Linked DNA regions of Homo sapiens: all the other regions are linked to region 1. The links are contacts of gene promoters, found by promoter capture Hi-C in blood cells and fetal thymus (Javierre and others, 2016). All regions are on one chromosome and are shown on one strand. Each heading gives the region's core, a stretch centred on a gene start or on the middle of the fragment in contact. The rest is flanking DNA. Distances are from core to core; before and after follow the strand shown.

What was found. The method cuts DNA at HindIII sites, captures the fragments that hold promoters and counts their contacts. A CHiCAGO score of 5 or more calls a contact.
Region 2: a contact is called between the fragment with the promoter of VAPB here and the fragment with the promoter of CTCFL in region 1, in 5 of 17 cell types (M0 macrophages, naive B cells, M2 macrophages and 2 more). The highest score is 10.2, in M0 macrophages.
Region 3: a contact is called between a fragment that was not itself captured here and the fragment with the promoter of CTCFL in region 1, in 4 of 17 cell types (M2 macrophages, M1 macrophages, erythroblasts and 1 more). The highest score is 11.1, in M2 macrophages.
Region 4: a contact is called between a fragment that was not itself captured here and the fragment with the promoter of CTCFL in region 1, in 3 of 17 cell types (endothelial precursors, M2 macrophages and naive B cells). The highest score is 7.2, in endothelial precursors.
Region 5: a contact is called between a fragment that was not itself captured here and the fragment with the promoter of CTCFL in region 1, in 12 of 17 cell types (M2 macrophages, total B cells, M0 macrophages and 9 more). The highest score is 10.3, in M2 macrophages.
Region 6: a contact is called between a fragment that was not itself captured here and the fragment with the promoter of CTCFL in region 1, in 5 of 17 cell types (M1 macrophages, endothelial precursors, M0 macrophages and 2 more). The highest score is 7.3, in M1 macrophages.
Region 7: a fragment that was not itself captured here is called in contact with the fragment with the promoter of CTCFL in region 1 in 4 of 17 cell types (endothelial precursors, M2 macrophages, monocytes and 1 more); the score reaches 8.6 in endothelial precursors.

Annotation. Positions count from the first base shown.
Region 1 is chr20:57,523,828-57,526,515 of GRCh38, reverse strand. CTCFL (CCCTC-binding factor like) reads left to right here and starts at 1,376. Exons shown (of 11, transcript NM_001386993.1): 1 at 1,376-1,488; 2 at 2,300-2,688. The coding sequence starts at 2,311. RefSeq lists an enhancer at 2,247-2,688. The HindIII fragment of the contact is 10,995 bases long and covers 1-2,688 here.
Region 2 is chr20:58,387,849-58,390,536 of GRCh38, reverse strand. It overlaps VAPB (VAMP associated protein B and C), which reads right to left and starts at 1,308. Exons shown (of 6, transcript NM_004738.5): 1 at 1,020-1,308. The coding sequence starts at 1,077. RefSeq lists silencers at 780-899, 1,160-1,599. The HindIII fragment of the contact is 12,509 bases long and covers 1-2,688 here.
Region 3 is chr20:58,229,618-58,232,305 of GRCh38, reverse strand. No RefSeq gene overlaps it. Among named protein-coding and RNA genes, the nearest start is that of ANKRD60, 2.3 kb to the right of the region's middle. The HindIII fragment of the contact is 2,638 bases long and covers 44-2,681 here.
Region 4 is chr20:58,194,738-58,197,425 of GRCh38, reverse strand. No RefSeq gene overlaps it. Among named protein-coding and RNA genes, the nearest start is that of ANKRD60, 33 kb to the left of the region's middle. The HindIII fragment of the contact is 1,765 bases long and covers 452-2,216 here.
Region 5 is chr20:58,175,267-58,177,954 of GRCh38, reverse strand. The region is part of intron 2 of LOC105372694 (a long non-coding RNA gene); the gene reads left to right. Among named protein-coding and RNA genes, the nearest start is that of CIMIP1, 26 kb to the right of the region's middle. RefSeq lists an enhancer at 1,768-2,268. The HindIII fragment of the contact is 7,423 bases long and covers 1-2,688 here.
Region 6 is chr20:58,154,669-58,157,356 of GRCh38, reverse strand. It overlaps CIMIP1 (ciliary microtubule inner protein 1), which reads right to left. Exons shown (of 4, transcript NM_178456.3): 3 at 1,788-1,889. LOC107985434 (a long non-coding RNA gene) reads left to right here. Exons shown (of 3, transcript XR_001754692.2): 2 at 528-659. Among named protein-coding and RNA genes, the nearest start is that of CIMIP1, 5.1 kb to the right of the region's middle. The HindIII fragment of the contact is 2,611 bases long and covers 34-2,644 here.
Region 7 is chr20:58,133,474-58,136,161 of GRCh38, reverse strand. LOC107987284 (a long non-coding RNA gene) reads right to left here. Exons shown (of 3, transcript XR_001754693.2): 3 at 2,335-2,688. The region is part of intron 2 of LOC107985434 (a long non-coding RNA gene); the gene reads left to right. Among named protein-coding and RNA genes, the nearest start is that of CIMIP1, 16 kb to the left of the region's middle. The HindIII fragment of the contact is 2,899 bases long and covers 1-2,688 here.

The sequences.
Region 1 (2,688 bases), core at 127-2,626:
CGTCTCCCAGTGCCCCTTGCGGCCATCCTCCCCTCCTTATCCATTTCCCCCCCAGGTCTCCCAGCGCCCCCTGAGGGCCCTCTTCCCCTCCTTATCCATTCCCCCCAAGGTCTCCCAGCGCCCCCTACAGGGCTCTCCTCCCCTCCTCATTCCACCCCTCCCCCCAGTATCTCAGTGCCTCCTGCGGGCCCTCCTCCCACCCTTATCCATTCCCCTCCCCTAGGTCTCCCAGCGCCCCCTGCAGGACCCCCTCCCCTCCTTATCCATTCCCCCACAAGGTATCCCAGCGCCCCCTGCAGGGCTCTCCTCCCCTCCTCATTCCACCCCTCCCCCCAGTCTCTCAGTGCCTCCTGCGGGCCCTCCTCCTCTCCTTATCCATTCCCCTCCCCCAGGTCTCCCAGCACCCCTTGCAGGCCCTCCTCCCCTCCTTATCCATTCCCCTCCCCCAAGTCTCCCAGCACCCCTTGCAGGCCCTCCTCCCCTCCTTATCCATTCCCCCACCCCTCGCCCCCCGCAGGGCTCCCAGGGCCCCCTGCAGACCCTCCTCCCCTTGTCCTCTCCTATTCATCCCCCAGGTCTCCCAAGAACCCCTGCAGACCCTCCTCCCCTCCTTATCCATTACCCTCACCTCAGGTCTCCCCGCCCCCCTGCAGGGCTCTCCCCTCCTCATTCCACCCCTCCCCCTGGTATCTCAGTGCCTCCTGTTGGCCCTCCTACCCTCCTTATCCATTCCCCTCCCCTAGGTGTCACAGGCCCCCTGCAGGCCCCCCTCCCCTCCTTATCCATTACCCACCACCCCCCTCAGGTCTCCCAGCCCCCCTGCAGGGCTATCCTCCCCGCCTCATTCCACCCCTCCCCCCCTCATTCCACCCCTCCCCCCAGTATCTCAGTGCCTCCTGTGGGCCCTCCTCCCCTCCTTATCCATTCCCCCTCAGATCTCCCAGGCCCCCTGCAGGCCCTCGTGCCCTCCTTACTTCCCCCCCGGGTCTCCCAGCGCCCCCTGCGGGGCCCTCCTCCCTTCCTCATCCACTTCAACCCCAAGGTATTTCCGTGCCCCTGCAGGACCCTCCTCCCCTCCTTAGGCGCTCCCCCACTACCCAGTCTTCCAGTGCCCTGCAGGCTCTCCTCCTCTCCTTATCCACCCCCACCCCAGGTCTCCCAGTGCCCTGTATGGGACCCTCCTCCCCTCCTCATCCACCCCCCCAGGTCCACCAGTGCCCCCTCTGGGGTCCTCCTCATCCGTGCTCCCCCTCCCCCTCCCTACTCCCCTTCCCCCCTGCCCCCACAGTACATCACCCCCTCCCCCAACCCTGCCTGGCTCCGCCCCCTTCACGCCCCCTCTTTTCCGCTCCGCGCCTGCGCACTGCCACCCTCCACTCTCGCGCCAGCCCGGCGGCGGCCGGCTGTGGGCTGCAGCACGCGGTGCACGAGGCAGAGCCCACAAGCCAAAGACGGAGTGGGCCGAGCATTCCGGCCACGCCTTCCGCGGTGAGGGGCCAGTCCCGGTCAAGCCCACCTGCTCTCCTCCAAGAGCATGGGCTGTTCTGGGCGTGGGCGGAGGGAGGGGCTGGCCGGAAAGGCCCAAGGGCGGGCGGCAGACGCTGAGGGGCTGCCTGGGAGGGTCGGGTCGGGGCGGGGCGTGGGGGGCAGGGTAAAGCAGGGGCCCTGCCAGGCCTCCGAGGGAGTGTGCTTGGTCTGGCCGAGGGCTGCTTGGCCAAGTCTGGGTGGGCTCGAGGCCACTAGGCCCAAAGCCTGCCTGGCTCTGAGGGTGCTAGGTCTAGAACCGTGCACGAGGGGAATGCCTGCTCGGGCCCGAACCTCGCTGGGCGCCGGGTGTGCACTGGCCCGGGGCCTGCTTGGACCTGAAACTTGCTAGGCCCAGGATATGCACTGGCCGAGAGCCTGCTGGGCCCAAACCTTACTAGGCCCAGGATGTTCACTGACTGAACCGGCTCAGGCCTAACCTTGCTAGGCCCAGGATATGCACTGGGCCAGAGTGTGCTCAGGCGGAACCTTGCCAGGCGCAGGATGTGTGCTGGCCCTAAGCCTGCTGAGGCCCAAACCTGTTCGTTCTAGGGTTTTGTACAAAATCCTGCTTTAGCCTAAATCCTGCTTAGCCTTGACCCCCTCCTAGACCCAAGCCAGATCAGCATTGTTCTGACCCTACTAAGTCCAAAACCTTTTGAGGCCAGACCTTGTTTCAACTCCAAAGCCTGCTAGGTTCCAGCACCCCCCGCATCCCTCCTCATACCACCCCCTTCTCCCCCCTATGGAAACCGCTTGCTTATTTTTCAAACAGGCCAAGTCATTATGGCAGCCACTGAGATCTCTGTCCTTTCTGAGCAATTCACCAAGATCAAAGAACTCGAGTTGATGCCGGAAAAAGGCCTGAAGGAGGAGGAAAAAGACGGAGTGTGCAGAGAGAAAGACCATCGGAGCCCTAGTGAGTTGGAGGCCGAGCGTACCTCTGGGGCCTTCCAGGACAGCGTCCTGGAGGAAGAAGTGGAGCTGGTGCTGGCCCCCTCGGAGGAGAGCGAGAAGTACATCCTGACCCTGCAGACGGTGCACTTCACTTCTGAAGCTGTGGAGTTGCAGGATATGAGCTTGCTGAGCATACAGCAGCAAGAAGGGGTGCAGGTGGTGGTGCAACAGCCTGGCCCTGGGTTGCTGTGGCTTGAGGAAGGGCCC
Region 2 (2,688 bases), core at 59-2,558, 860 kb before region 1:
AAGCTCTGTGAGAGCAGAGGCCTTATCTGTCTTGTGCATCCATCACCTCCCCAGAGCCTCCCACATCACTGGATACACGCAAAAAGAAAGAATGAGCATGTCAGACAAGAACTTTTACCTCGTGGCCCTGGTGAAGGTAGGAAAAAAAAAAAAAAAACAAAAGTAACAACATAGAAAACATAAAGGCACAAATTACAGAGGTAATAGTATCTGGGAGAAACCAGGGTCATGGCTTCCCATCGCCGCAGGTGTTGCTCCAGACAGCTCTGCGGAGAAAAAGGATCCCAGCACCGTGGCAGCCTCCTTGCACCGCAACCAGGAGACAGCATGAGGGACGCAGTGAAAGGAAAATGGGCCCAATCCCATCAGAAGTCCTGAGGAGGTTCATTTGTTGGTTCAACATGTTCATCTGTTGGTTCAACAGGTATTTATTTACTAGGCGTATAATGTGTGCTGGGTACACAGCAGCGAACTGACAAGAGCCTGTCCTCATGCAGTTTCCCTTCTAGTATTGAAACAGTGATTTTGGGTATGAAAAGTGCCGTGCTGACCACGAAACAGTGACGGAATAGGGAATGACAGCAGGTGTGCACGGTGGCTGGGTGGTCACAGCAGGCCTCTCTGAGCAGCTGACACCTCAACTAAGCCCTGAGGTCAACACTGTCACGGAGCAGGGGAAGAAACTTCTAGGCAAAGGCAGCGGCGGAGGCTCACACTAGAGAGGATCACAAACTGGTAAGTTACAAAGTGACAAGTGCCTCGAAGGCAAGTCCCAGGAGGCTGGGGGTCGGGGAGGAGGCGCAGGCCCCGGCTCCCGCACCAGCCCTCTCGGGTCCCGGCCACTCCGGGCAGTTCTGGGGAGCGCGGCGAGCGCCAAGGCCCGGCCCGGCCTCGCCGCCCCCCGCGACAGCGCCGTCGGGGTGGGGACGAGGGCCGACGTCACCCGCCGCGCCGGGCTCCGTCCTTCCAGCACTGGGGCGGAGGCCGCGGGCAGGAAGGTGGCGGCCTCTGGGGCTTACCTCGGAATTTGAGCTCGTGCTGCGGCTCGAGGCTCAGGACCTGCTCCACCTTCGCCATGTTCCTTAGCGGCGGAGCACCTTTGGCGGGGAGACCCCTGAGAGGTCACCGGGGCGGGAAGCGTTAATGCTGCGCCCGCTTTAAGTTTTACAAAAAGGCGGGGACCGGTCGGGGCACGGGCGGGGGTCCTCTACCGGGTGGGCGCGCTGGGGGGGGGTCGGTCTACGCGGTGCAGGCGCAGGGGCGGAGGGCGAGGGCGAGGCCGCGGTGCCCGGCGAGCTGACGGCACGCACGCACGCACGCACGCACGCAGAGTCGTACACACGCACGCACGCAGCAGGCTGGCCCGCTCTGGCGGCGGGAAGCTGCGCCCTGCGCCGCCGGCTCCAGGGGCGGGGACTAAAGCTGCGCGCGTAGAGCCCCTTCCGGGACAGTGCGCAGGCGCGGCACAAGCCACGGGGGCGGGACTGCGGGGCAGTAAGGGGCGGGGCTTCGGGCCGCTCAGGAGGCGGGGTCTGTAGTCCAGCTACGACAGCCACCGCGGAAACTATTAAGGGCCCGCTGGGGGCCAGCTTCGTGTTAAGTGCTTTATTCAATAATAACAATTAGAATAAACTTCCACTTTTCTCTTGCTTATGTAGTGCCAGGCACTGTTAGAGACTTTGAATAATAGTGAAAGTACTTAGTATAAGTATAATGTTTATGGGTGAGTGATATGGGCTAGGCACTGTGACGTCTTGTAAATAATAATTATAAATATAATAAACTACCAATTATTGCTTATTTATTTTGTATCACTCTACTGAATGCTTCCAATAACAACAGCAACTACAATAAATACAAGCTACTCTACGTTAAATGTTTACTATGCAACTGGCACTGTGCTGAATTCTTTACTAGTAAATTCTATTTGTTTATGCAACAAATATTTAGAAATACAATGATCAGAAAAGCGAACCTGATTCCAATCCTTTTACTATAGCCTAGTGAAGAGACATCTTTTGAATAAATAACCACACACGTAAGTTAAATAATTAAAAATTGCTGGAGAATCCAGATCTGCTTGACCTCAAAAGTGGATACTCTACATCATGATTACCGTTTAAATTGTATTTCATTATATTATGTTTACTATGGAAGTTAAATAGGTGTTCTTAATAGTCTCCTATACATACCCATATAGGTGAGACAAATGTGGCAAATTGCTAGCAATGGCTGACTCTACATCGCAGGTATATGGTTTTCTTGTACTGTTTCTCCCACTTTGCTGTATACTTGAAATTTTTCATGATAAAAAGGTTTTTTAAAAGAATAGTCTTTGTATTTTAACTGGAGCATTTAGTCCATTTACATTTATTATATTTACTGATATATCTGGAATTATTTCTACCATTGTATTTTGTTATTTCTATTTGTCCTGCCTGGTTTTTTTCCCCTTTCCTTTCTTCTTTAGGGTTTATTTTTATTCTCATTCTGATTTTCTTCACCTGTATACTCTATTTCTAAGTTTTAGTGGTTACTTCAAACTTTTGGGCATGCATACTTACCTTGTGAAAGTCCAATATCTTTAAATATTTGTAAAAATGTCTTTACCCTGTTTCCTTAAAATATAAAGACTTTGGAGTACTTTAATCACCCATCCTCTAAATTATACACCTTAATGTAGTGTAT
Region 3 (2,688 bases), core at 113-2,612, 710 kb before region 1:
AACTAGTGGATTATTTACACCTGGACAGGACTCAATAAAAGCTTTGTGTTTCTTGGATAGTTTATTTCTACACCACACATATAGGAAAATATCTTGAACTCTGCCCTACATGTACATTTCTTGCCACCTCACCCCCTGCCCCACCCTACCTACAACCTGCTCCTGCTCTGCACATTGCCATTTCTTTTGTATTGCAGGGAAAAAAGATAGTTACTATAATTTTAAAAATATGCATAACTGTTGGGAGTCCATCTTTAACATTTTAGAAATACTCTTTGATTTATTGTCCTGACATGTGGCTAACAAAAAACAAAACCGAGTGTGTTTTGAACACTGTTCATGGCTTACCTGATTCAGACTCATGGTTTCTCTCTTTAGCGTATTTTAGAAATGCTGGTAACCCTCATCTTGAAGTCATTGAAGAGACCATCTTAGCATTGCAGTCAGACCGGGACCAAGATGTTTCCTTTTTTGCAGCCCTAGAACCAAAGCGGCGGAATATCATAGACACTGCTGTACTAGAAAAACAGAATTAACTACTTCCGTGATGAGTTGCAATCTGATTATTTCATGCTTGGCACATATGGCTTACCATAACTTGAAGGGGAACTGATTGTATTATACCAGCTGGGGGAGATTTTGGAACCTTTCATACTGTGCACTCAGTGATTGACGCCTTTTCCATCTGTACCCCGAAGGGACTGAACCTGATGGGGGCTTTTTCTGGATGGCTGGGCCATCCTGATCAAGCCTGATCAGTAAGTCTGTGGAAAGATTGCAGACCAGGTGGCTAACTGGGCACTGGAGCCTCTGAACCATCAGGCTGTCTGCCAGCAAGTTCTTTTCTCCATGGCAGACTGTATGATCTGAAGTCCCCCCAACCCTCTCCAAGTAAAGTAGTTTATTAGAAGCTCTTAAGTCTTTAATAGACCTGCATATTTCCTTCCCTTATGATTTCCTATAAAATATAGTTTATGGTGTTATATTTTTAACTGAAATACTGTACATATGTAAATAACTCTTGACAGGAAGAAAATATATTAATGTAGTATTTGCCCCCTATCAGTGAGCTGAACAAATACATCATTTAAATCTATGCTGCACTTTGAGTTGCTACAAATATGGTTCGATTTGTTTATTTTTGAAAAATGTGATAAAGAAATCTAAAGAATGATTGATGGCAGTCTTTCTAATATTGTGCCTTTGTTATAAACTACTTGGAACTTTTCCTCAGGCACTCACTCCTCCCTGCCTGACAGGAACTGTTTCCATGAAGATATGTGTTGGCCTTTGATAGAGGCATAAAGCTGAAAGATTTTTCATTTTTATATGGATATGCTGTCATATGTTTAAGAACTTGAGAGGGAAATGGATAACTGAGGTTTTTCCATTTTTATATGGATATGCTATATGTTTAAACTTGGGAGGGAAATTGATAACTGAGATGCATGGATATTGACTTTATATCTAATGCTTTAGAATCTTAACCAAAAAAAGGAAAACCTAGTTCTGATCATAACCTGCCCACAAGTTCTACGCACCTGTGACTTTGGGGGTCAAATTATATACTCTTCAAATTGACTTAAGTACACACCGCTTAGATTTCATGCGTTTCAAATTTAGACTAAGAGAAAGATGCTCTAGAATTTAACCAGGTTTTTTAAATCAGTAATTTAAGATTTTCTAACCATTTGAACAAATTTTACTTACATGTATGCACATGTCATTTTTCGTGTTTCTATTTTTATGTTCTCAAAGGTAGGATAAGGGAAGGAAGGAGGAAACAGCCCATTTGGGGTTCAAGAGCTAGCTCTGCTAAGGGCTTGTAAGCTATTTCTATTCTGCCCTTTGGTCTTTTTCTTGTTTGTCTTGTCTTTATTTTTAAATGAAATTCTTGAAGCTATGTATTGAATTTTCTAGTATAGAGGATGTGACTTCCACCTCCAAATTCCATTTAACTGATTCTTTTAAAAGAAAGATAGGCGTATATACACCACGCCAAAATAATAATAAGGTACCTATGTGAGAATTGCAAATTATACCCCAGGGTAGCATTTAGGCAGCGTCGGCAAAAAGTGAGTTAATAAATCAGAAGCTACATATTAAAAAAAAAATCAGTCAATCCGTCGTGTGTTTAATTCTTGCCTAAAGTAAATGGAGATATTGTTTTGCTTTGGTAACCAGCAATTTTTAATTTTTTTTTATTGCCCGCAAATTGAGATTGTTTTGTTAAAATCTGTTGATCTAGCAGCAAGTAGAATTATTCAACTGGAATCTTGTATTCTATTCAGAGCTTAATTTTCCGTTAAGGAAAAAAATGAGCTTCAGTTTGTGTTGTGATGTGTATAATTTGCATGCTGAATCACAACATGCTTGGAGAGATTGTAGAGACTCTTTGGTAAATAATCTAACCTTTACAATTTCCGTTTATATGTTAACATTTTTCTATAATATGAGTGCCTTTCCAATGCACAGATATTTTTTATGGCTGTAATTTCTCTGTAAAAATAATTTTTAAGCATACATTTTATTCTTTTTTTGCAACAACCGAGATTTTTCCAAGATTGTTCTGTTTCCCCTCGCCCTCCTAGCTCCCGCCCCCGTCACTTCGGCGCTTGTATTTTCTAATTATTCATGGGTGCCATGTTGAGTGTTTGTAATTTGACCACCACAGGTAAGCTTCCTGTT
Region 4 (2,688 bases), core at 85-2,584, 670 kb before region 1:
TAAAGGCACCTACAGATATTGAACAGATGAAAGGTTGTAGAGTTCAAGAGAAAGGGGGATTCTCCTTTGCTGAAAAGCAGCCTCATGAATCGTGAATGCTTACGACGGTGTGCTGGTGGGACAGCATCAGTGCCACAGAAGTGTGAGCCTGGCTCCGTCCTCAAAGATCTGCTGACCTAGCAAGGAGAAAAGAAGCGAGGGAGAGGCGGAGGGCCAGGAGAGGTGGCCCCGGTGACGGGGCGGAGTGGGAGAGGAGGGCCAGAAGAGGTGGCCCCGGTGACGGGGCAGAGTGGGAGAGGAGGAGGCCCAGGAGAGGTGGCCCCGGTGACGGGGTGGAGTGGGAGAGGAGGAGGCCCAGGAGAGGTGGCCCCGGTGACGGGGTGGTGGTAAGATGGATGGGCCAGCGGGGCTAGAGGTGAAGGTGACCAGCTCAGTGTGGTTGTGCTAAGCTTCAGGCCAGTGGGACACTCCGGAGGCAGCACAAAGGGTTAGGGATAGAAACCTAGGTTTAGGAAAAAATGTGTGTGTCTGTGTGTGTGTGTGTGTGTTTGTGTGTGTGTCTGTGTGTGTGTGTCTGTGTGTGTCTGTGTGTGTGTCTGTGTGTCTGTGTGTGTGTGTCTGTGTGTGTCTGTGTGTCTGTGTGTGTGTGTCTGTGTGTGTGTGTCTGTGTGTGTTTGTGTGTGTCTGTGTGTGTGCACGTGCGCATCAGGCGAGGGTGTGGATGAGGAGCCACAGGGAAAGCTGGTGGCACGAGAAGAGGAGGGTCGAGGAGAGAACCCAAGGGGATGCGCTGGAGAGCCAGGTGGGGGAGAGATGCTGGGTGTCTGGGTCCTCGGAGAAGTAGACACCCATGCAAGAGATAGGGAAATGGGGAGGAGGCAGGGACGCTGGGAGAACCTTGTAAGGAGAAAGCGAAGGAAGGGGACGGACGTGTGTTCGAATGCACTGCAAGGCAGTATCTTGCAGAAGGGATCCATCTTAGCGTCCTGGACATGCCCGTGATGGGCAGAGCGTGCCTTAGGCGTGAAAGCCAGGATGTTTTCAAAGGGAGGCAGCTGGGGCTACCCAAGGCCAGTTCCACCCCCTGCAGGCAGTAAGAGGTCTTCGGGGACATTTCCATGGCTGCCGCCATGATGCCCAAGACTGAGAAGTGGCAGTCTAAGCAGAGGGGGTGCAGGATTTCTGCTGTCCACTTGTTCATTCGCCCACTCATCAAACATCCTTGAGCACCTACTACGTGCCAGGTGCTGTTCTGGGCAGACACAGCAGCAGTGAACAAAATAGAGAACGTCCCTTCCTTTGCGTGGCTTACACAATAGCATGGCATGCCAAATCCCAGAGGGAAAGAATAGCAAGGATTTCAAGACGGAGGTGATAACCAGGATGGGTGACGTAGGATGAGGAGGATTGGAAGGTGGGTTGGGTTAGGCTACAGGGCGGCCACAGCAGGTCTCTCCAGGGGGATTCAGAGGAGTCGAGAGGAGGTGGAGGCAGAGGGGATGGGGAAAGGTGGGTGGGTGGGCACAGAGAAGCTGAGGCAGGAAGTGGAGACTCATTTTTTTTTAATTAATTAATTAATTTATTTAGAGACGGAGTCTCACTCTGTCACCCAGGCTGGAGTGGAGTGGCTTGATCTCAGCTCACTGCAAGCTCCACCCCAGGTTCAAGCAATTCTCCTGTCTCAGCCTACTGAGTAGCTGGGATTACAGGCATCTGCCACCACATCTGGCTGACTTTTGTACTTTTAATAGAGGCGGGGTTTCACCATGTTGGCCAGGCTAGTCTCAAGCTCCTGACCTTAAGTGATCCTCCTACCTCGGCCTCCCAAAGTGCTTGGATTACAGGCGTGAGCCACCATGCCTGGCCCAAGACTCATTATTATTATTTTTTTAATCTCAGGAGCTTGGCTGGGAAGAGGACTGTAAAAGTAATAATATTAATTCTTAATGAACTTCAAGTGGTCCAGACATGGACAACATAAAAAGTGGAGATTTCGCTTCATTTGTCCCACTGAAGATAATCAACACAAACAGTCTGGGTTTGGGGCAGACTTGGCAGATCGGCTGTCCTCCAACCAGCTCCCAGCTTCCTCCTCCATCGCCTGATTTCACTGTACAGGTAGAAATAACCCTATTCCCCAGCCGGTCTTGCAGCTGGCGGTGGCCATGTGACAAGTTCTGGCCAATGAGAAGTGTGCGAGGGTTGCTGAGAAAGCTTTTGCTTACTTAATAAAAGGACAGCATTGCTAGAGATGCCTTTTGTTTCTTCCTCCTGGCCTTGAATTCAGATGTGATGACTAGAGATGAGGCAGCCATTTTGCCATCATTAAGACCAAGAAAATTGCAGAGACTGCAGCTGTTATCCATGGAGCTGCTGAGCCAGGGTTAGCAGCTGCCACTCACCTTTTTCTGATGTGAGAAGACAAACTCTTAATTTTTAAAGTCACATTAGTGGATTCTTTGTTATTTCTAGCCAAGAGCTTCCTAACTGATACAGTCCATACCTTTCCAGGCTGTTTTCTGTCTGTCTGTCTGTCTGTCTGTCTCTCTGTCTATCTATCTATCTAAATGAGATTATACTATACATTCTATGCTACAATTTTTATGGTGCACATCTTTTTACATGAATATTCTTTAAAAAAATTGTTTTCAACAATTTTATTGTGCACACAAACTATAATTAATTTAA
Region 5 (2,688 bases), core at 112-2,611, 650 kb before region 1:
GACTGCTTTGGTGAAGGAGATGAGACCTGTGAGAGCTGCTTAGCGATTTTTGTTGCAAACTGAGGAAGTATCTGGGGTGGATTAGGGCCCAGACTAGGGAGGGAGCTGGGATTGCTGTACTTTCACAGAGGGTTTTCTTTCCCAGGGTATGGGGCCAACACTTGGTCATGGGGCTTTGGTTTCTCCAGGTGTAGGGAAGGACCCTTGGCCCCTCTGCTTCAAGGCAAGCCCGTTGTGTCTGACCCCAGGCAGCAGGGGAGGGTTTGGGCCCACTACCCTGGTGGTCCTCCCCGGGGTGAGGACAGAGGCTTGAGAATCCCCCACTTGGTGAGGGGGAAGGAGGGAATTCTGGGAGTCAGGAGGGTGACAGGCCCTGGCAGGTGGGGGTCTTGGCTAGTACCTTCCTGCCAGAACAGGATTCCACAAGCCAGACAGATGGGGGAGAAGGTGGGGGTGGGGGAAGACTGACGGCATGTGACAGCGATGGCTGGGTTTTTTGTTGGCGTCTGGCTGGTGACCTTTTGGGGGAATGGATTCAGAAGTGACTGCTATTTGTCAAGGCCCAGTTCAGAGATGCCAGTGGGGGTCACCTCCTCAGGATTAAATGTCAGGGCCCTACTGTTGCTGGAAGTGGGATATACATCCCTGCAGGACACAGGCTGGTTGGGGCTTGGCAGTCTCCTGAGCCCAGGCGTGTCTGCAGAAATGCAGGTGTGCCTACCTCATGTGCTGTGATGTTAATTTGTGACTTGCTCTTGTGTGTGTGTGTGTGTGTTTCCTTTCTCCTCTTCCCAGAAGGCAGTGGAACTCCTTCATCAGGGTTTTGTGGTATGGAGTGGGGGACTGAAATTGCCCACTCCTGGTTTTTATTTTCAAAAGGAAGATGCCTTGTGGGGGGCATGGCTGAGATAGTGAGAAAAACAGCCACCAAGCTGGGAGGGGGTCCTAGGGCTGGGGGGGCCACAGCCCAGTCTCACAGCTTCCTGGGCAGATGGCAGAGTCTGCATTGGTAGGGCTGCCAGGAATTCCTGCCAGGCTAGACCCTGGATGCCCAGGCCCCTGCTTCTCCAAAGCCCCTCTGCCTCCACCTCTTGGCCTCTGCCCTCAAGAGACCCTTAGGGTCTATGTATATCAAGAGCCTAGGGACCAGAGCCACACCTCAGGGTTTGAAGTAGGCTGAATCACTTTGCTGGTGGCCTTAGGCGAGCCTCATCTGCGATAGGAATGGTGCCCCTCTGTAATCTGCAGTCAGGATTATTTAAACACATAAAGCACTTAGAGCAATGCCTGGCATAAAAGAAGTGCTCAATAAATAGTTGCCCTTGCTGTTCTTGTAAGTGATGACTGACCATTGTGAACTGAGAGTTCGGGGCTTCCCCAAGAGTTTGGCTCCATGCTAGGCCTCTGGGGCTTTGAGAAGGTGCGGGCGTAACAGCAGCCTCCATTTGGCTGGAACTGAATTTCTCATCAGCCCAGGGGCATGGGGGCTGGAGGCGCTTCTAGGGGGTTGGAAGAAAGTGGGGAATGAGTATCTCGAGAGCCCCAGTAAGCCCCAGACTCATGACCCCCTCTCGTAAGAGGCTCCTCAGATTGGGCCTGTGGTCTCCAAGGGTAATGGTGGGGACAGCTGGCAGCCACTGCGAGAACCCACCCTGTGAGTCATCTGAGTGGGTCCCCCCAGGGTCTTTTGAAGTCAGCTATGAGACCCCCATTTTATAGGTCAGGGCCCCATCAGGGGCTGCCCAACACTCATGGCTGGAGAGTGGGGGACCAGGGATAGAAGTACGATCACCTCCTTCAGGGCCTCTGCACATTGGACTCAACTGCCCTTATGGGGACACTGACTTCCCAGGGGGGACTTGGGCACAGGGTCTCCGCTGTCAGGACCAGCTCTACTCAGGGCGCAAGCCAAGCCAGGACCTGGTGCCCCAGCCCGGCCTAAGTTAGTGATGGAAGTGAGACCTGAACCCAAGCCAGCTCCCAGCTGGTGACTAACATGGGGACTATCACCACCATCCCCCTTGTCCATCCCGTCACCCAGGGACAGAACAAGTGACCACACCAGGACCCTTCTCTATGGGACAGATGCTAACCTGCAGTATGGGCATAATCTGGCCCTCTCCTGGGTAGATGGAGCTGTGGCCCCTTCTCAAGTGATGGCTGCTGTTGGAGGAATCCCTATTCCAAGCTCCAAGGCACAGCCCCTATGGTGCGTGCCTGCCGGGGCATAAACGCAGAGTCCATCCATGTCCTCTCCACACTACAGGGAGGACACAGACGAGGCCCTGATCACTCAAGAGGAAACCGTTCACCTGGGATAATGGGATGCAGTGGCTGCGGGTGGCCAGTGGGGACTTGAACCCATGCAGTCTGGTTCTGCCCAGTTGCTCAGCGCACACTAGGGCTGCTGGGGGAGGTGCTCCTGTCCTGGGAATGCAGATTCTCCCTGTGCTGAAGTTCAGAGAAAGAAAAGGAAGGAAAAAGGAAAATCTTCTTCCCTCCCATCCCCTCCTGTTCCCCGTTTCTCGCTCACTCTGTCTTCCTGTCCTTTCAATGTCTTCCTCCCTTTCTTTTCTTTTTCTGCCTGCCTGCCTTTCTGTCTCTCTCTCTCCCTTGTTTTTGCCTCTACTTGTCTGTTTTTCTTTCCCTTCTCCTCTCTTTCTGTCTCTGTCCCTCCCTCCCTCCCTC
Region 6 (2,688 bases), core at 90-2,589, 630 kb before region 1:
TGGCCAGAGAAAGGAATTCAGCTTTTTTAAGCTTCAGCTTTCCCATCTGCAAAATGGGTTTGAGGATGATAATATCCGGGGCTGCAGTGGAAGTAAGATGAGACACCCAATGTAAAGCAGTCACCACGGTGAGCGGCTAAGAGATAATAATAGCTTGAGCTGGTGGGGTGGTTACTCTTACAGGTCAAGGGATGTGTAGGAAAACCTCTGGAAGGAGCACCCCCAAAATGTTAATCATGGGTAAGAGCCTATATGTGGGTTTTAATTATATTATATTTTGGTGTATTTCTAAATATTTTTTAGCAGTGACTCTATATTGCTTTATATTTGGGGTAAAAACTGTCAACATAACTCAGTGGAGCTCATTCATTCATTCATTCATTGGGGCTCACAGATGCATACCCCCCAAATGCTCACTATGTGCCAGCTACCCCATCAGACCACGAGCATGCCAGGCAAAAGGCTGCAGCTGAACTCCTCCTGCCCTGCGGCCTTCATCTTGGGTTTTCATCTGCTCTCCCCATCAGCACGCAGAACCACCTTCTCCATAGCTGGGCAGAGGGCAGAACTCCCAGCCAAAATGACAGACCCATGAGACATATGGAGCTCAACTGTTTCTAGAGGGATCTGAGCCATGTCCGCCGTGGTGCAGGCTTCAGGTGAGAGCATCGTCTAAGGCCTCTTTTCTCTGGGTTTGGCCTGGTCACTCCTGTCCCTCTCCCCACAATCTTTTCTCCACTAGCAATGAGAGCCATCTTTCCAATAGGCAGGTCTTGCCTTTCCATGGCCCTGCTTACAACCCTCCAGCGGCTTCTCTAAATTGGACTCCAATTGCAACTCCTTCTTCTAGCCTGCCCACTTTTCCACTCACATCCCTTCTCCACCCACACCTTCTCCTCCTGCCCCCACCCTCCACCCAAGCTCCTGTCGCATCGCCTTGCCTTGCTGTTCCTGAAACATAGCAGCCTGTGTTCTATCTCAGGGCTTTCATACATGCTGTTCCCTGCGCCTAGAATACTTTTCCTAGGGCTGGTGCCTGGTCATCCTTCAGTCCTCAGCTCAAAGGGCCCCTTCCCTGACCACCCCGCCCTCTCTTATCCTGTGACACACCACCGGCCTGTTTCCTCCATGGTGCTAGCATAGCGTATCCAAATGGTGTTGATTTTCTTGGTTAATGTTGGTTCTCTAGACCCAGACATGTGGGCTGGGGTCTTGCCTTCTTGTTCATTACTGTTTTCCCAACCAAGCTGTTGCACCTTAGTAATAGCTGACTGTCATCGGCACTCTCTAAACATGCTGGGCAGCCTGCTGAACCCTGAGGGTACTCCCTGAAGTAGGTGCTTCATTAACCCCCATTGTATAAGACAGGCAGGGGAGACACAGAGAGGTCAAGCCACTTGCCCAAGACCACACAGAAGGTGAGCAGCCTATCAGCACAGGGATCTGGTGGTCTGATTCCAGAGTCCCTGCCTGGGTCTGCCCTGCCTTCCTGCCCACACCCTGGAAATGTTTGCTGAAAGAACGCATGAAGACCCCATTTTCCTGCCTTCTCTCTGCTTCTGCAGAGCAGGAGGTCATGGTGCTTGCACTTGTAGACTTTAGCCTGGCATGTTTCCCATGGCTGGGTTTGGGAAGGACGTGGACCTGGACTCTGCACCTGGCACTGCTGTGCTCTTACCTTCAGTGCTGGCTTTGCACATCTGGAGCCATCAGTTTCCACTGGGGCTTATTTCTTACTTAGGAAAATGAGTATTTTAAAAAAATGAGTATTTAAAAACGTTTCAAACCTTGATGTACTTCTCCACTGGGGTCACCGGCCGGATGCGGAAACGCTCAGGAAGCTCGATTTTGGGCTTTGGGGTGGGGAGATCTTCTTCACACTTGATCAACTGAAACAGAATCCCCAGAGATGGGAAGTCTTACGTGAAGCTGGGGGAAATGTACTGAAACAGAATCCCCAGAGACGGGAAGCCTCAGGTGAAGCTGGGGGAGTGTCCTCCCCATTGCTTCCCCTAGAAGGCGCATTTTATAGACACAGAAGTGGGGCATGGAAATGGGAGGCAGAGGCTTGTCTTAGTTACACCGTTAGGAAAGTAGGGTGGGGACCTCAACGCAGGCCTGCTGCACCCAAAGCTGAGACCCATCTCCATCCCCTCCTGCTGCTCACCACAGCCTCCTGATTTACATCCCCTGTGGGGGAATTTGAGAAAACGTTACCAGTTACGGACTCAAGTTTTAAAATGCCAAAAAGGGTTGAGTGTGGTGGCTCATGCCTGTAATCCCAACACTTTGGGAGGCCGAGGTGGGAGGATTGCTTGAGCTCAGGAGTTCAAGACCAGCCTGGGCAACTTAGCAAGACTCCATCTCTTCAAAAAATACAAAAATTAGCTGGGCATGATGGCATGTGCCTGTGGTCCCAGCTACTTGGGAGCCAAGGTGACAGGATGGCTTCAGCCTGGAGGTGGATGCTGCAGTGAGCTGAGATCATGCCACTGCACTCCAGCCTGGGTGACAGATCCAGACCCTGTCTCAAACAACAACAAACAAACTAACAAAAAATGCCAAAAAGTTTTCAGGACCGAACTTTAAAATATTAGAGGAGAGCGTCCACTCCCCTTTTTAATTTTTCAAGCAATATCAAGCTTTTTGAAAACCCAATTTAATTACATATAAAGAATATTAATATAG
Region 7 (2,688 bases), core at 123-2,622, 610 kb before region 1:
TTTTTTGTTTTGTCTGCTGGAAGACGCAAACTCTCATAGTTAATGCAGCCTTATCCCCTTTGGTTCTCAAATGATGAATCAGGCTCAGTCATTTTTGTGTATGTATTTGCAACACTCACGGCCGGGAGCGCTGAGTTCTTTTGTTTGTAAATACCTACTTGGGAGAGGTGCAGATTCAGAGCCGAGTATTTTCCTCCAGGGTGGGGCCGGCAGTGTATTGCCTTACTCTTGCACTGAGCAGTGAGAAGGGGTTGGAGCCGACAGGTGAGCTCCAAGTGCCCCCGTAAGCTGGGTGGTCATGGGTGAAAGAATTAATCTCTCTGAATAGTTGTCTGTAGAATGGGGGGATGACAGGAGTGCAGGCACAGCACAATGCCTGGGACATGGTCAAAGTCCCGTGAACTTGACCCCTTTTATCTGCGCTGTCAACGTTTTCCTCCCTCTGTCCTTCCTGACAGCGATTTCCCACCTGCAGTCCTGTGCATAGTAGAACGCTCAAAGAGAGAGCTCCACCTCACTTTGTCTGCAAGAATCAGCCAGAGCTGACTCTTATTCAAACTGGCACCACATCCGCGGGGTTCTAGCAAGAATTGCTGGGCTCCTAGCCAGGTAACTGGCTGAGAAGTGCTCACTCTATAGAGCCCCCACCGCCTCCCTGCTGGCTTACCTGAGGGGGCTTGGCAGAGTTGCTGAGCTCAGGGAGGTGGGGCTTCTGGAGTTTGAGACTTGGTCCTCTCCTCCCACTGCCTTCCCTGGCCACCAGTTCAGGGAGGCTGTGAGCAGAAGAGGTCCAAGTGACAGAGGTACCCTCAGCCACTTTCTGTTTCAGATGCTGGCATAGCTTAGCTTTTGATATACAAGAAAGAGACAATTTAAAAGATCCCTCCCTCCCTTTAAAAAAAAGACCTTATTTTTTTAAGAGCAGTTTCAAGTTCACAGCAAAACTGAGTAGAAGGTGCAGAGATTTTCCATAAACCCCCTGCCTCCACACAGGCACGGCCTCCCTCACTATCAACATCCCCCACCAGAGCGGGACACTCGCCTCCCTAATTGTGTTTGTTTTTGTCTTTTGCGCATCTTTTCTTTGTTTTGTGCCTCCTTAGTGTGGCCATAGAGTTGGAACCATACAGTGTGTGCTTTTCAGACTGACTTCTTTCACTTAGTAACATGCCGTCGGTTTCCTCCACATCTTTTCCTATCTCGATAGCTTGTTCCTTTCTTAGTACTGAATAAAATTCCAGTGCCTGGATGTACTACAGTTCATCCATTCACCAACCCAAGGACATCGCGGTGGATTCTAAGTTTTGGCAATTATGATGAAAGCTGCTCTAAACAAATCCTCTGGGTAAATATCAGGGAGCACAATTGCTGTGTGGTATGGAAAGAATATGTGTAACTTTGCAAGAAGCTGTGAAACTGTCTTCCAAAGTGGCTGCACCATTTTGCATTCCCACCAACCAGGGGTGAGAGCTCTCGGTACTCCAATCCTCACCAGCATCTGGTGGTGCCGCCTCCCCCCACTTTTTTTTTTTTTTGGACAAGGAGTTTTTTTTTTTTTTTTTTTAAAGACAGAGTCTCGCTCTGTCGCCCAGGCTGGAGTGTAGTGGCACAATCTCGGCTCACTGCAACCTCCGCCTCCCAGGTTCAAGCAATTCTCTTGCCTCAGCCTCCTGAGTAGCTGGAATTACAGGCGCTCGCCACCACACCCAGCTAATTTTTGTATTTTTAGTAGACACAGGGTTTCGCCATGTTGGCCAGGTTGGTCTCGAACTCCTGACCTCAAGTGATCCACCCGACTTGGCCTCCCAAAGTGCTGGAGTTACAGGCATAAGCCACCACACCTGGCCACCTTTTTAATAATAAAATATTTTATTTTTTAAATTATTGAAATAATGCATACTCAAATAAAAATATAATCTTAGAGTTCCTATGGAAGAAGAGATGCCCTCAGAATAGCTAGGAAATGTGGAAAATGAGAAGAGTGATGGAGGATTTACCTATCCAGGTATTAGTATAGGCTCTAAAGGTCCTGTAACCAAGTCAGTTTTGGTGTCGTGACAGGGACTAGATTAGTGAAGCAGGAAGTGAAGTGGAACTGTCCTTATAACTCAGAAGGTATATACGGAGAGAGCTGATGTTCAAGACAGGAGGATGGATGAACCCTTTGACAAATGGGAGAACATGAAAATGGAACCAATGGTCCATGGATACAGAAATCAACTCTAGAGGAATTAAATACTTACAAGTAACACAATAATCATAATAGTATTGCAAGAAATGTGTGATACTGCAGTTACAATCTAGGGGCCAGGGAGACTGGAAACCCAGAAGCTATAAAGAAAAGATGGATTTTTTATTTTATTTTATGAAGTTGAGAAGTTTTGCCTGCCCAAGAGATCACAAAGGCAATAAACAAAAGGCATTCCAAGAAAAACATTTATAACCAAGAAGTCAGACAAAGGGTTAACTTCTATGCAATACAAAAATTCAAATAATCCAGATGTGTTTAAAGCGAAATGTGAATGTGTTCCCCCTGCCTGCAAGCCCCTTCCCTGGGGGAGATCACTTTTAATGGTTTGATGAATTTCCTTCTGGATGCTTTTTTTCCCCGTCATGCTGCAAAAGGAATTAATTTTAGTTTTCCTCTGAGCTGCAGCGCTGGGAGAGCGGGAGAGCCAAGCTGCCTTT